2 separate regions of the Homo sapiens genome follow, and region 2 is linked to region 1. The links are contacts of gene promoters, found by promoter capture Hi-C in human tissues and cell types (Jung and others, 2019). All regions are on one chromosome and are shown on one strand. Each heading gives the region's core, a stretch centred on a gene start or on the middle of the fragment in contact. The rest is flanking DNA. Distances are from core to core; before and after follow the strand shown. Region 1 holds the start of RAB31 (RAB31, member RAS oncogene family). Region 2 has its middle 58 kb from the start of VAPA.

Region 1 (6,804 bases), core at 156-2,655:
TTTTACCCTGCCCACATAGAAGACTCTGCTTTGGATACAGAGTCAAGGACGGATACTGATACAATGGACCTGTAACTTGTCCATGGCTGCCTTTTGTACAGTTTAGTCCATTTGAGTAATCTCTACAAGCCTGCACCTCGAGGGCAAACTTCCTGCTCTTCTGGGGAATTTAATTGTGAATTGTCTGTTTCGGGGCCCATTTTGACTCCTGTATTCCAGGACTTATCTCTTTGGAGGCCTTGATTTGGAATTTCCCATTGGATGGGGCTACTTGGGTACTGGGTAGCTTCAACCTGGCTTCCGTAAGAACAAAGCCAGATGATCACGGTGGGTGGTCTGCTAGGAGAATGGAAATGCCATTGATTAAAATTGGAAGGTTAAGAGAGAGGCCTGAGAGTTTGGGATAGGAGATGAAGTTTCAAAAAATCAGTTTTTAAAAAAACATTTCCCATCTGAAATGCCAGTGAATTGTTCAGATAGATTACATTGAAAAGGCTGACATTTCTGTAGCAGCAACGAATGAAGTCATCCGAGTGGATGAGGTGCTCTAGGCCATACATGGAGAAGAGAACACAGTTACCCAAGCCTCCCCGACTGTGTGCGGCCACAGACTCTGCTCATTTCCCAGTTAGGAACGATGCAGGGGTCTGCTGGGATCTCCACGTTTCTACCTGTACCTCTGAGGACTGGGTTTCTGCCCACACGAGTTGCAGGATTTGCTCTACTGAGAAAAAGACTTTTGCTCCAGAAAGCAAGTTTCCCGTTTCAGACACGGACAGCGAGTTTTGCTTCTAGAATCATTTTCAGCTGCATACAGAAAAATGAACTTGGCTGAGCTGAAGAGCCACACATATGTTAAACGGAAGCTCGGGTATTAGGAACGTCGAGAAAGGCAGGCCGAAAAGTTAGCCCCCTTCTCCTCACCCCTGTCCTCACAGCGGCCCCTTCAGTGGCCTGACTTTTTCTGCGTGGGACCCAGAATGTCGCTTGAGGATGGGACCCCCGCAGACCTCCACGCGCTGCCACGCAAACGGCCTCGGCCGAGAGCATTCGCTTTCCAGATGAGAATGGCATCTTCAGGGACCCGCTGGTAGTGGGGCCAGGTCTCCACAGGGCCGGTCCAGTCCTTCCTACCCACCCGGGCCCTGCGGCCAGGCGGGGCCGGGAGGGGCGGATGCCGGAGGGCGCTGGGGGAGGCCGACCCGCGCGGGGCTGGTCCGAGGGCGGAGGCAATCCGCCGGCGACGCCGCAGGTCCCGGGTGGCTGACGCCGTCCGGGGGCGTTCCTGGGAGCTGGGGGCCGGCGAGGCTGGACCCGACGCGCCCGGGAGGAGCCGGCCGGCGGCCACGTGACCCACCGCGGCGGGGCCGGCGGCCCAGAAATAGCAGCGGCGGCGGTTCCGCCCGCGGGCGGCGCGAGCGAGGGGCAGAGGCGAGAGACGCCGGCGGGGCGCGGGCGCGGCGGCCCCGGAGGATGCTGCTGAGCCCCGGCACTGCCTGGCTGCGAGCACATGATGGCGATACGGGAGCTCAAAGTGTGCCTTCTCGGGGTGAGTCCTGGCCGCCACCCGCCGGCGGACCCCGGCCCGCGCTCTCGCGCCCCTTCGCTCCCCTATTCCCTGCGCGCTCAGTCCCCGTGATCCCCTCGCTCTCCGCACCCCTCTCGTAGCCCCCGTCCCCCTCGTCCGCGCGCCCCCTGGTTCCCCGGGTCCCCCTGGCTCCCCTAGTCCGTGCGCCCCTCGCTCTCCGCGCCCCTCGCTCTCCGCACCCCGCCTGTTCTCCGCCTCCCCGCCGTCCGTGCGCCCCTCTGGTCCGCCCCCGCTCTCACCCTGCCGGGGTCCGGGTCCGAGCCTGCCCCGGGCTTACTCCGCTCTTTCCTCCCGGCCCGCGAGTCCCCGGATCCGCGGCGACCTCGCGGGGACCCCCAGCGGGGACGGGGCAGTGGCGGCGAGTCTGGGGCCCCGAGGGCTTTCTCCTCCGCTTTTGATAGTTTCCTTCCGGCAGAAAGTTTAAGTTGCTCAGCCAAGTCGCTGAGTGCTCTTTTGCCTCCTGGGGGCAATTGATTTACTCACGTAAAACAGAAAAATAAAACCAAAAGCGAACCCAGCCAAGGGGGTGAAAGCCGAGGGCGCGGCCGGGGTGGAAGGTGAGGCAGTGACCTGTGCGGAGCGCGCCCTGCAAACTTCCCTGCTGCGGGTGAAAGAAGCTGCCTGGGAAAGTCCTCCCCACCATCACTCCCCTAAAGTGGGGTTTTCTCCGCCCGAAGAAGCCTTAAAGCAGCCAGAAACAAAAAAGCAGTCAATCCGTGCGGCCCGGGGACTGCAGACAGGGGACCCGGCGAGGACGCAGGGAGCCGCTGGCGAACCGCCCCTGGGAATTCAGATAAACGTAGGGTCGCTTCCTTTCGGGGGCCCACTCCGCATTCCAGAATTCCTTCTTCTAAAAGAAGAGCCGGTTCTAAGGGCGTTTTCAGCAGCCATTAGCATCTGGTGTACCCGCCCGTGTCATTGGCAAAGCTGGTCTCATGAAAACCATTTCCTAAAAAAGGGCAGCGAAAGGGTCGCATTCTTGTGCGAACTGATCTGTCAAGATGGGGGTACAAGAACTGTAGAAAGAGGAAATGATTTCGGTGAGGACTGAATTGTGCCAGCGTCTCTAGGCTTCCTCTAGGCTCTTGTGGAACCTCCGGCAGGCTCCCATCATCGGCTCCCATCACCGGCCTCTTCCAAAACCATCCCTTACGCTAACTCGATTGTCCGGTTGGCTTAGAATTCCAGAGGATCTGGGAAGGCCCTGCCCTCCCTGCTAGCCCCTGGCACAGATCCGCACAGATCCCCACCTCCCCCGACTTGCTCAGCCACAGCCAGGATCTAGTCTGGTCTTTCTCTGTTGACCTTTTTGTGTGGCAGGAGTGGGTTTTCCTGTTCCCCAGGCCCTCTAATATTTCCAGACATAAATTCCAGGAATCCCATGCTTCCCTCTTGAGGGGCCATTTCAGCCTCAGGAAAGGCCTTCAGAGACTTAGAAGGAATGTCGTGTTCCAAGGAATGAAGAGGCAGCCTTGATGTGCCGTGTTTGTCAGGACTGGCCTTGGGAAAGGTGAAATAGGACATATTTTTGCCTTTTTTTCTGCAACTCTTTTCTCTTGACTTTTACTGAGGTGGTCCAAGCCCTGCCGTGTCACAGGACCCCTTATTTTCAGTTTCGGTGTTTAGGGACAGGTCTCTATGTCCTCCTACCAGGACACTGATCAGGTGGCAAGAACCCTGTGTCAAGAGGCAGGAAACCTAGGCTCTCGTTCTTTCCCACCAAAGAGCTGTGTCGTTTTAGCAAAGCAACTCAGTGGCCTCATCTATGAAATGGGCATAATAACATGTTCCCCCTTTAGGCAGAGGACTACACCAGATGATCTCTTAAGATACATGTTACCATTTCCTGCTAATCTATGAGTTCAGGGTGCCAATTAGCAAACCTGGGAGAGGAGGAAGCTGGAGGAAATCTCTTTACTTCTTTTATCTCCAAGAAAGATACACACTCTTTGAGTGGCTTCCTGCAGACAGTGCCTTACCTTTGCCAGTTCTGTGTGTAGGAATTTGAACTTGGAGTTGGAAGAACCATGCCAAAGCAGAGAAAGAAGAGGTTTCTGGGCAGACGGAGGCTTTGAAACATCAATCGTGGCCGGTCGCGTTGGCTCACACCTGTCATCCCAGCACTTTGGGAGGCTGAGGCGGGGGGATCATTTGAGGTCAGGAGTTCAAGACCAGCCTGGCCAACATGGTCAAACCCCGTCTCTATTAAAAATACAAAAAAAAGTTAGCTGGGCGGTAGCGGCGCATGCTTGTAATCCCAGCTACTCGGGAGGCTGAGGCAGGAGAATCGCTTGAGCCTGGGAGGTGGAGGTTGCAGTGAGCCGAAATCACGCCACTGCACTCCAGTCCGGGCGACAGAGTGAGACTCTATCTCAAAGAAAAGAAAACAAAAGAAAAGAAACATCAGTCATATCACACCACATTTGTGGCTTCCTTTTTTTTTTTTTGAGGGTGGCTGTAAGTTTCAGTTTTATTGAAATCAGAGGACATTTTATTTGAAAGACCAAATGACCTTGTTGTCCACACTGAGTAAGATTTGCCACATCCCCTCGTTTGGCTGGCTCTTTCCTGGGTGAGATGTGTGCAGCAGGCTGTGTTTCTAGCTGCTCATCCAATTAGGCTGATTCTCTGGGTGGGATAACATTGAGGGAGATCAAAACCATTTGACTGTCTTCGGTTTACTCTCTTCTCTCTCTCTCTCTCTCCTCTTTTTTGTTTTGAGACAAGGTCACATTCTGTCATCCAGGCTGGAGTGCAGTGGTGCCATCATAGCTCACTGCACCCTCCAACTCCTGGGCTCAGTGGATCCTTCTGCATCAGCCTAGGTTTATTCTCTTGATTCGAGAGACCCTGTGGATCAGTCAGTGCTAAGTCCAAAAGTCCTTTAAAAAATATATGTATATTTTTGAGATAGGGTCTCACTCTGTCACCCAGGCTGGAGTGCAATGGTGCCATCCTGGCTCACTGCAGCCTCAGCCTCCCAAGCTCAGGTGATCCTCCCACCTCAGCCTGCCAAGTAGCTGGGACCACAGGTGTGTACCACCCAGCCCAGCTAATACTTTTTATTATTTTTGTAGAGATGGGGTCTCCCTATGTTGCCCAGGCTCTTTCAACATTTTAACAGGAACCTTGGGCTCATTTGTGCTTTGCGTAGGGAGGTCTGTCTTTTCTGGGTGAAGTTTTGTGTGTGGCTGGCATTCAGCTTCCTGTTTTTTAGCCATGAGACACCTCCCTGAAGTCTTGCTATGACCAAGACCCTGACAGCCACACCTTCTTTCTGCCTGTTAGAATCACTTTCTGTCGGGTTTCCCTTATAAGGTGATAGAGAACATAGACTTCATAACAAAATATCACTCTCACTGGGAAGGCTGAGGGGTTGGTCTTTTTGTGCCTGGTACTGTGCTCAGTGGGGACTTGGGGACATGCTTCGCATTTAAGGTATAGGTTGTTTTAGGCATGGGCAGTAGGCGCTTTCAGCACAGGCTCCCTGCTGGTCACTCTTTGCTGTAGTTTCCTGCTCCATCCATGGGGTCGGAGGTCTTACCTCCTGACGTTAGAGTCATTTGCAGCAGGTGGGAGTGAAAGTGGGCCGGGTGCCAGGTCTTCTTTACCTGAACCTCTCCTGTCTTCCTGGCACATTAGGAATGTCCAAGCTTATTTCTATTGGTGAATGCTCCCACATGGGATGGATAATGGCCTGTGGAACATTCTCTGAATGCTTTGTGTTCTTGGAAAACCAAGGACTGAAGAGCGTTGGGTTTGTTTAGGTTACCTGTTATAAATTCTTGGCTCACATTTCATGTGTGGACTTTCTTGGGTTTATTCCACATGGGGACAGCCCAGCAAGCCTTTGTGAACGCCCTTTCCTGGCCTGAGCCGAGTCACCTGTGGAAGTCAGCCGTGCAGGAGGGTGTGCTTGATAGGGGGAAGCACCCTGGGCAGGACCCCATGAGTTTCCTTCTTACCAGGAAAGTGTCATTCGTCCCACTTTGTGATCTGAACTGGTATTATGAAACATGAAGCTTAAAGGCAACAAAGTATGTTAACAACAACAACAAAAAATACTTAACAAAAACAACACTGAGGCAGCAGCTGCTTCAACCCCAAAGGTGGAAAAGTTTCCCAGTATGCATTTTTAACACACATCACCATGTGGCAAGAAGCAGGAGGAAGGGAGAGAGTGGGGAGGAGGAGAAAGAGAAGGAGGGGACCTTTGTTTTGTTATCTCCTTGGGGTATTTGTGTGCGTGCACTTAAAAACTGCGTGCACTTAAAAACTGCTTCCTGATGGAATCCCAAAGAGATTTATATTTGGACTTTGGTTGTCTTGACAACAATTTAGAAATTCCTACCACTTCCTCAATAGCTGAGTGATCAGTTAAAAGAGCCGATGGCTTCCCTGCTTCTGGTAAGGAGCTTGTTGAAGCATCTTGTGATCTTTGTTGGAATGTATATGGTGGCTCATTAAAGAGCAGTCAAATACCTGGGATTTGGTGAGACATCTGGGTAATGGGTACTTCACCTATGTCCAGGGCCTTCGCATGGAAGGCCTCTTGTCTCCCCAGGGACACTAGGACGCAAGAGTAGAACAGATTTATACTCACAGTAAGGCAGATCATCAGAACTGTGCAACCTCACATGAGTTGCTATGAGCACTGTATGACAGAGTATCCAATAAGGTGATAAGAATTTGTTAGTGTTATTGTGGAAGGAAGTAATGCATAGGATAGTGGGTTGGGCTAGGTAATGATCACATTTGCTTTCCAAGTCTGAGATTCTAGTAACTTACTATTTTTTCTCCCGAGACTGGCATTTCTTGGGGAAGGGGGATGGTGGGGAGGGTTGAGTGGCTAGCCACAGCATTTATTTCTTGGCACAACTGATTCCTCTACTAAATTGAACCATTTGTGGAAAGTATGTTCAGCATTGGTGACTCTGGGTACGTTCTATGTTACACGAGAATAAATATGATATAGTGGGCTATCTTCCCAGCAGTGCCTGGCATATGGTAACACTGTGTCTTATGCACCCATCCCAGGCTGATGGAATCCATCAGGGTCCCTTTGTTCCTCCTTTGTTCAGGGTCAGCATTGCTGCTTTCATCCTCCCTCAGCTTTCAGAGCTCAGTGCATCTCTGGAGTGTGTATCAGAATCATTTGAGGAGCATTTTCAAGCTTCTCATGGTCCCTTCCCCCATCCCTTATGTCTTAATTTGAG
Region 2 (6,563 bases), core at 45-2,544, 260 kb after region 1:
GTCTCTCCAACTGAACAATGGCACCGTCCCTTCACACTCTGGCCCCTCGCTCGGGCTCCCCTCACCCCCATGGAATGTGCCATACCTGTCTTCATTTCTCTTGCGGTCTGCTCCTCCACCAGAACGCAAGCTCCCTAAGAGCAGCGCTTTCAGACGTTTTGTTCACTGCTGCCTCCCCAGTGCCTGTTAACGGCCTGGCATACAGTTAGGTGCTCAGTAAGTCTTTTTTGAAAGGAGAGAGAGAAAACGCACAATTGTGCATGCACACGGGGTAGCCATATAAAATGGGCTCTTACTACGGATTGTGGTTAAAAGAAAAATCTGAAAGCCCTGCCTCAACTGAAACCTACCCCGCCTGCTTCTCCTCATCTTCATTTCTGCGCAGAGCTCCAGACTTCCCATATGGGATCCACAAACCTCCTCGCTCTTCATCTTCTAGGGACAGCCTTTTGCCGCCAGGCTCCAACAGAAGCTGAGATGTCTCCTGGGGGCCCTGCTGTGGTCTGGAATGGAGAAGACCCTTCCACGCTGGGAGGAGGGGCTGGTTTCCTTCCTCGTTTTCACGCCTGTTCTGAGGTTTTCTTTCCTCCCTCTTGCAACAGCCCAGGCTTGTTTCCAGCTCGCGCCGCCCTCAGCCCACCTCGCTCCTTCCCTCTTCCAGCCTGCACCCTCCCCTGCCCGCCACGCTCTCGGGGGTCATCGCTGGGCGGGTTGCTGTTTGTTGACCTCCCCCTTCCAGGGCACTTTCTTCACACACCTGTCATTCACTGTCCTGAGGGAGAGTTTTTGTCACCACTGGGCAGAAACATCTCTGAAATCTCGGCTGCAGATAACTGCTTTCCAATCACAGCGATCCTTTCATCCGAGTTGCAGAAATATCCTCTATGGCCATAACTTCTTACCTCAACTCTTCCACTCACGAAGTCACCACTTTCTTACTAAGAGTGGCCTTTTCTTGGTTCCCTGGCTGGCATTCGATGCCAGTGCTGCCAACTTCACTGCTTCCACCGGCTCCACAGCTGCCTGGCACGCCCAGCCCCTCGGGGTTTGCTGGCTCGGGGCGTCCCCTTCATTGTAGTTCAGGGCCCCTTCAGTGCACATTTAGGGTGAGCCGGTGTGTTAAGCCACACCACACTGACTTTGGGAGATGGGCCGATGCTGGCCTTAGACTGCAGGGACTGCGTTGAGACTTTTCTGGAAACATATAGGTGTGCCTGCATGGAGACTTTTCTGGAAAGCCATCCTGGAAGTGGCCATTTGGAAAGCAGGCAAGCCTTGACCCTTGGGAAAGGTGGGACTTCCTCTCCCCGGGCCCAGGGAGTGGGAGGGGAGAGGATTGGCCTGTGGCTTTGTGGAATTTGGTGTTTTCCCACGGGGGGAGATGGTAGTTGCAGAGCCTGGGAGGTTCCTTTAGCTTCAAGGGGACTTGTCTGTGTCCAGGCCCTCTCTCAAGCACAAGAGAAAGGTGACGATGCAGGATCCTTCCCTCAGGTGACACCCTCTCAGCTCAGCCACCAGAGTTCATGGCCAGCCTTGGTTGCGGGTGTGGGTCTGAAGAGTGGATCATGAAAAGCTGGTGGTTCTCCTGAAGGGAAACCCTCGAAACTTCTTTCTCACCCTCTGAGGAGTTGGTGGAAATATCTCAGGCCTCCGCTTGGGAAGAACGTGGAGCAGGGCTGGTGCCGCCGCAGAGACCAGCAAGCCGGGCTTGGTTCTGCAGGAATGAGTCTGAGGCACTTGCGGGTCCTGCTCTCTCAGCGGGGGCGATGGAGGAAGCCACCCTGCCATGTCCTTGTATTTAGAGAAGGGGCTCTGGGGAAAGCGACGTGGTGCTTGACTACTTCATCATCAGATTAGGAAGATATCTGGGGCCTTAATTTGGATAACTGGGTCAAGATTATACAACAATTATGGTTATATGCAAATTCTGTTGCTTTAAAAATAGGAATCACCTTATTTAATTATTTTAGGATCACAAAGCTTCCGTCCTCCAAGAATGACCACACGGTGGACATTTCAGGAGCCTTGGAGAGCCACACCTCTAATTCCCCCATCACCCTGAACGTGCAGCTTGCCATCCTTCTGTTTTTGTCTGTAAACTGGTGGCTATTGTCCTAAATCATTTTTCTTAGGGAATTTTCCGTAACATCAACCCCAATATTTTAACAATTGTGGCGTGTTTGGGATGGGGATCCCAAGCATTTCATCAGATTCAAGCATTTCCTATACTTGGAGCTTTTTTCTTTTTGGTTTCTAAAACTAGGTAAATAAGTGTATTTGGTTTCCTAACCTCCAAAGCCTTACTGATTTAATTTTTGCTAAATGGCACTGCTGAATTTTAATGTACACAACAGAGGGTCCTTGGAGGAACCGGTGTCACTCCACTCCAGGGGCCCCTTTCTCATTGAATTTTAGATGGTGCAGAAGGAATTGGGCTAGCGCCTTTCCTAGGAAGCCATGGGAAGATTTAGCACTCCAAAAAATTGTTTTAATTCAGCACCTCCAACAACCTGTCCCCGGACTCTTGTTTTTCTTAGTGCTAAACTATAACCACCTAGAACACACGCTTTTCACATTCTGAATAGTAACTTGAAGGCTGGTGATTCTGAATAGTAACTTGAAGGCTGGTGAACCATTAAATTCAACTGTTGTAAAATCTGATCCTGCCACGAGGTGGCAGTGTGGTCTTGTGTCTTGAGGCTTTCTGCACGATGGAAAACCCAAGTTGGTTTACACTGTCTGTACTGATAGACATTTAGTACAGACAGTATAAACCAATTCCTTTCAAAAACCCACATCTCAAACAAAATCAAACTATTAAGTTTTTAGTGCAAACTGTAATTGCAGGCTGAAGGAAGCTTTCTTTTTGATTCTAAGGATAGATATAAAACTTCTCCACTCTCCCTTAGAAGATATAAGAGTTTGTTTTTCCAGTAGAAAATTAGGCTAATTACAGTGATAATGTGGGTAAGCTTTTGTGGTATCTTTGATGAAAATATATAGTAGAATAATACCTTTAATTTCATTACTAACTTTCATCTGTGTGACTTACTTTGTTGAAAGCATTAATTTTTTATAATGTCTTATAATTACAGAAGGCATTATGTGTTTTTCTTTACCTGATCCTTCCCTCAAATGTTGAATAACTTTTTGATTTCATGATTAAATTCTGGGTTCTATGTACATCTCTCTTACCACACCCCCAACATGTTAACATGTAAATAGCCTATCTTGTCCACCCATTGTCAACTGGAAGCTCTGACTGAGGGGAAAGCAAGCTTGAATAAGGGCTTAAAAAAACAGTAATTTAAAAAGCAAAAAAGTCCTAACTTTTTTATTGCTGAAAATGTTAAGACACAATTGTCTTTGAGTTTACTGTTTTGGAACTCTAATGAGGGCCATCTCATTAACTTGAATGCTTTTGAACTCAGTTTAGCTTTAACGCGTGTGCTCTCAGGCAGGCAGGCAGGCAGGCGTGTTCCTCTGGTATTGCAAACATCTGTTTGGAATGGATCTAAATTCACATACACCATGCCTGTGCATTCAACATACCACCCTACCTAAGAGCTAAGGATGAAGAAGATGGTTATCTTTGACAAAAATCATAATTCCTGAGTGTCTCCATTGCACTTGGTGAAAATGTCACTTGGTCTGGGCCAGGTGACAGCCATGGGGTTAGACCAAGGGGCCAGGCCATGGATTAGAGCAGGCCTCAGACCCAGAGCTTGATCAAGGGGGGAATCACCCACAAACGAATGAACGCCTACTCTGTGGCTGTCAGTTTACTTACATTGGCTCCTGCAATCCCTCCAACAGGCCCATATCTCCCCTTTCCACAGAGGAAAAAGGTTTACCAGGTATGGTTGGCAGAACAAGGGGCCCCCAAAGATATCCACACCCTAATCCCCGGAACCTGTGAATACGTTAGATTACACAGCAAAGGGGAATTAAGGTTGCCCATATAATTAAGGTTGCTAATCCAATGACTTTCAGGTAGGGAGATTATTCTGGGTTATCCTGGTGGGTCCAATGTAATCATAAGAGTTTCTATGGCTGGAAAGGTGAGAACCAAAGAGATGGCAGCATGAAAAGGCCTCAGCCAGATGCTGCTGGCTTTGAAGATGGAGGAAAGGGCTTGAATAAGGGCTTAGAAGCCAAGGAATGTGGTGGCCTCAGGAAGCTGGAAAAGACATAAAATAGATTCTCTTGTAGAGCCTCTAGAAGGCGTACCGCCCTGCTGACACCTTGATTTTAACCAGTGAGACCCATTTGACTTCTGACCTCTAGACTTGCAAGAATGAATTTGTGCTGTGTAAGTCACTACATTCGTGGTAATTTGTTATGGCAGCAATTGGAAACTGACACACTGGTGCTCTATATTGTGGGTTACACAGGCGGCGTGGGGTGATTCCAGACTTAAATCATAGCTCACATGACTGAGAAAATGTTATTTCTTTGTTTCATGGATAAAGTGATATTTCTCACCTGCTAGGTAGAGGATGAGAGGAAAATCATTTTTAGTTCTGTTTGATATGAAATTTAGTCTTAATCCAATAATTAAAAAAAATCCCTTCAGGGAATGCTGTGTTTTTATTTTTAATAACCGTTCATTGTTTTAACTTCCTCCTTAATCACCTGCTCTGTTCTCATGGAGTGTGTGTGTCAGGTGACTCAGTGGCTGTGGGATTGGGGGGTCTCTGGTTCTCATCCAGCTCTGAGGCTCCCTGTCACCCCCTCATGTGTGTGGGTGGCCTCAGGGAAGGATTTTGCATAGAATGGGACTGAAGCGGGTGGGGCCTCAGGGAGTGGTTTTGCACAGGGTGGAGCCATGATGAGCTGGGCTTTGGGGTGCCTGCTGCTTCCTGCATTCCTGTGGGCAGGCCCAGTCTACACCGACATCGGGAGACCTTCGTGCCTGGTGTCCATTTCCCCAACTCTATAGACTTCTCCCCTCCTGGGTCTGCTGCCTGGAGTCCAGTCACCCTGGGTCCCCTCATTTCCCAGTCCAGCTCCCTGGTGCAGTCTGTGGTATAGCCCTCTCCTCCCTAATTAATTCCTCTTCTAGTCATAATGACCATCGAGGAGTGGCATGGAATTAAAGTCTCTGACTTTGGTTCTTTAGAAGCTGAAGAAAATTACAATTGTTTCAATATCTAAGCCTGTTTTTCAGCCCTCTTGTCCTGTGAAGGGGCTAAGTACCTTCCCTCTGTTGTCCCAGGGCCATAAGTATGGAGACCACAAAAGGCATATGTTTTATAGGGGGCTGTTAAGATGCATACTTTCCTGTTTGCTGTACATGGCTGTTTAGCAGAAGCTGCGCTGGGATTGGAGCCTCGGTCTCTGTCCTCAAAGCCCACATTCTCACCTACTACAACACCTTGGCAGGCTGCAGGTGGACAGAGGCTGTTAAGTTTCCAGGTAAGGAAATCTGGTCCTAAGGCCAGCATCTGGGAGGAGAAGGACGGTGTCTCCCTTTGGCATGATCTACCAGGAAGATGGAAATTACTACCATTCTCCAAAAGCGGCTCATTCTGCCAGAAGCTGTCTACATTAGAAGGGAGAACAAACTTGGAGGTGGAGTTGGAGGGGTGCAGCATTGGGAATGTCTGCTTCTCATTAGGTTGTGTGTGTGGGAGAGAGGGGCTAGGTGGAGTTCATTAGCATCATTAGGTAGTTGTCCTGGACTTTCCCCAGTGGGAAGGAATGAGGCCTCAGGGCACTTTCAATTAAAAAATCTGATTTTATGTCTTTGGGAAATAGTTTTATGTTTATTTCTTAACATACCATTTTCTAATGAAGCTATTTGACTTCTAAGAGAACACTTTTTATTGACTATAAAGAATAAAACAATCTTGTGATGTTGAAACCATGTTCCACAAATTCAGTATGGAGTCATCTGTCAAGAATAAACAAACCAACCAAAACCACCATACAGCTTATTCCAGAGTAAAATGTGATTTTTAAGACTTTTACTGCTCAGCACAGAGGTATTCTGGAAGTCCAAGCAGACATTACAATGGATTTGTACATGCAAAGTTGGAATAGGGTATTTCATGTGTCATAGGCCTTCCTGGAGCGGTAGCACTACTGCTCTTGCCTTACCCAAGATCCATTCTTCTTTCCTTCTTCACGGATGGAACCCTGCTTTTGTTTGGGGTAGCACTGTGCCCTACTAAAAAATTACATTTCTTGGCATCCTTTGTAGTTGGGGGAAGGTCATGTGATACTCTTCTGAACAATCAGAAGTGAAAGACTGCTGGAAATTTCTGGGAAGTTGTACTTTCCTATTTTGGCATCTACTACTTTCTCCTTGTGTTACTTTCCTCTTCTCCAGATTGAAAGGTGAATTTGATTGGCTTTATGTCTTCAAGTTTATTCTTAAAACCGTGAACTAAAGACTGAGAAAATTACAGAATTCTCAGCCCTGACACTTTTGAGCTGCTGGACTAATACTAATTGTCTGGATTTCATGTGGCATGAGAGAAAAATAATAGCCCTAATTTATTCAAGTGACTCATGATCAAATTTTCAGTACTCCTAATTTATATTTGACATTTCACCAA

Evidence for each region. Contacts are between HindIII fragments. The study calls those that stand out against the background at their distance.
Region 2: a contact is called between a fragment that was not itself captured here and the fragment with the promoter of RAB31 in region 1, in 2 of the 25 tissues and cell types used here (dorsolateral prefrontal cortex and mesenchymal stem cells).

The regions. Positions count from the first base shown.
Region 1 is chr18:9,706,896-9,713,699 of GRCh38, forward strand. RAB31 (RAB31, member RAS oncogene family) reads left to right here and starts at 1,406. Exons shown (of 7, transcript NM_006868.4): 1 at 1,406-1,549. The coding sequence starts at 1,511. It overlaps LOC124904244 (a long non-coding RNA gene), which reads right to left and starts at 1,077. Exons shown (of 2, transcript XR_007066281.1): 1 at 1-1,077. LOC105371981 (a long non-coding RNA gene) reads left to right here and starts at 1,777. Exons shown (of 2, transcript XR_935131.2): 1 at 1,777-3,098. RefSeq lists silencers at 1,101-1,670, 1,771-2,000. The HindIII fragment of the contact is 12,091 bases long and covers 1-5,425 here.
Region 2 is chr18:9,968,841-9,975,403 of GRCh38, forward strand. No RefSeq gene overlaps it. Among named protein-coding and RNA genes, the nearest start is that of VAPA, 58 kb to the left of the region's middle. The HindIII fragment of the contact is 3,242 bases long and covers 1-2,915 here.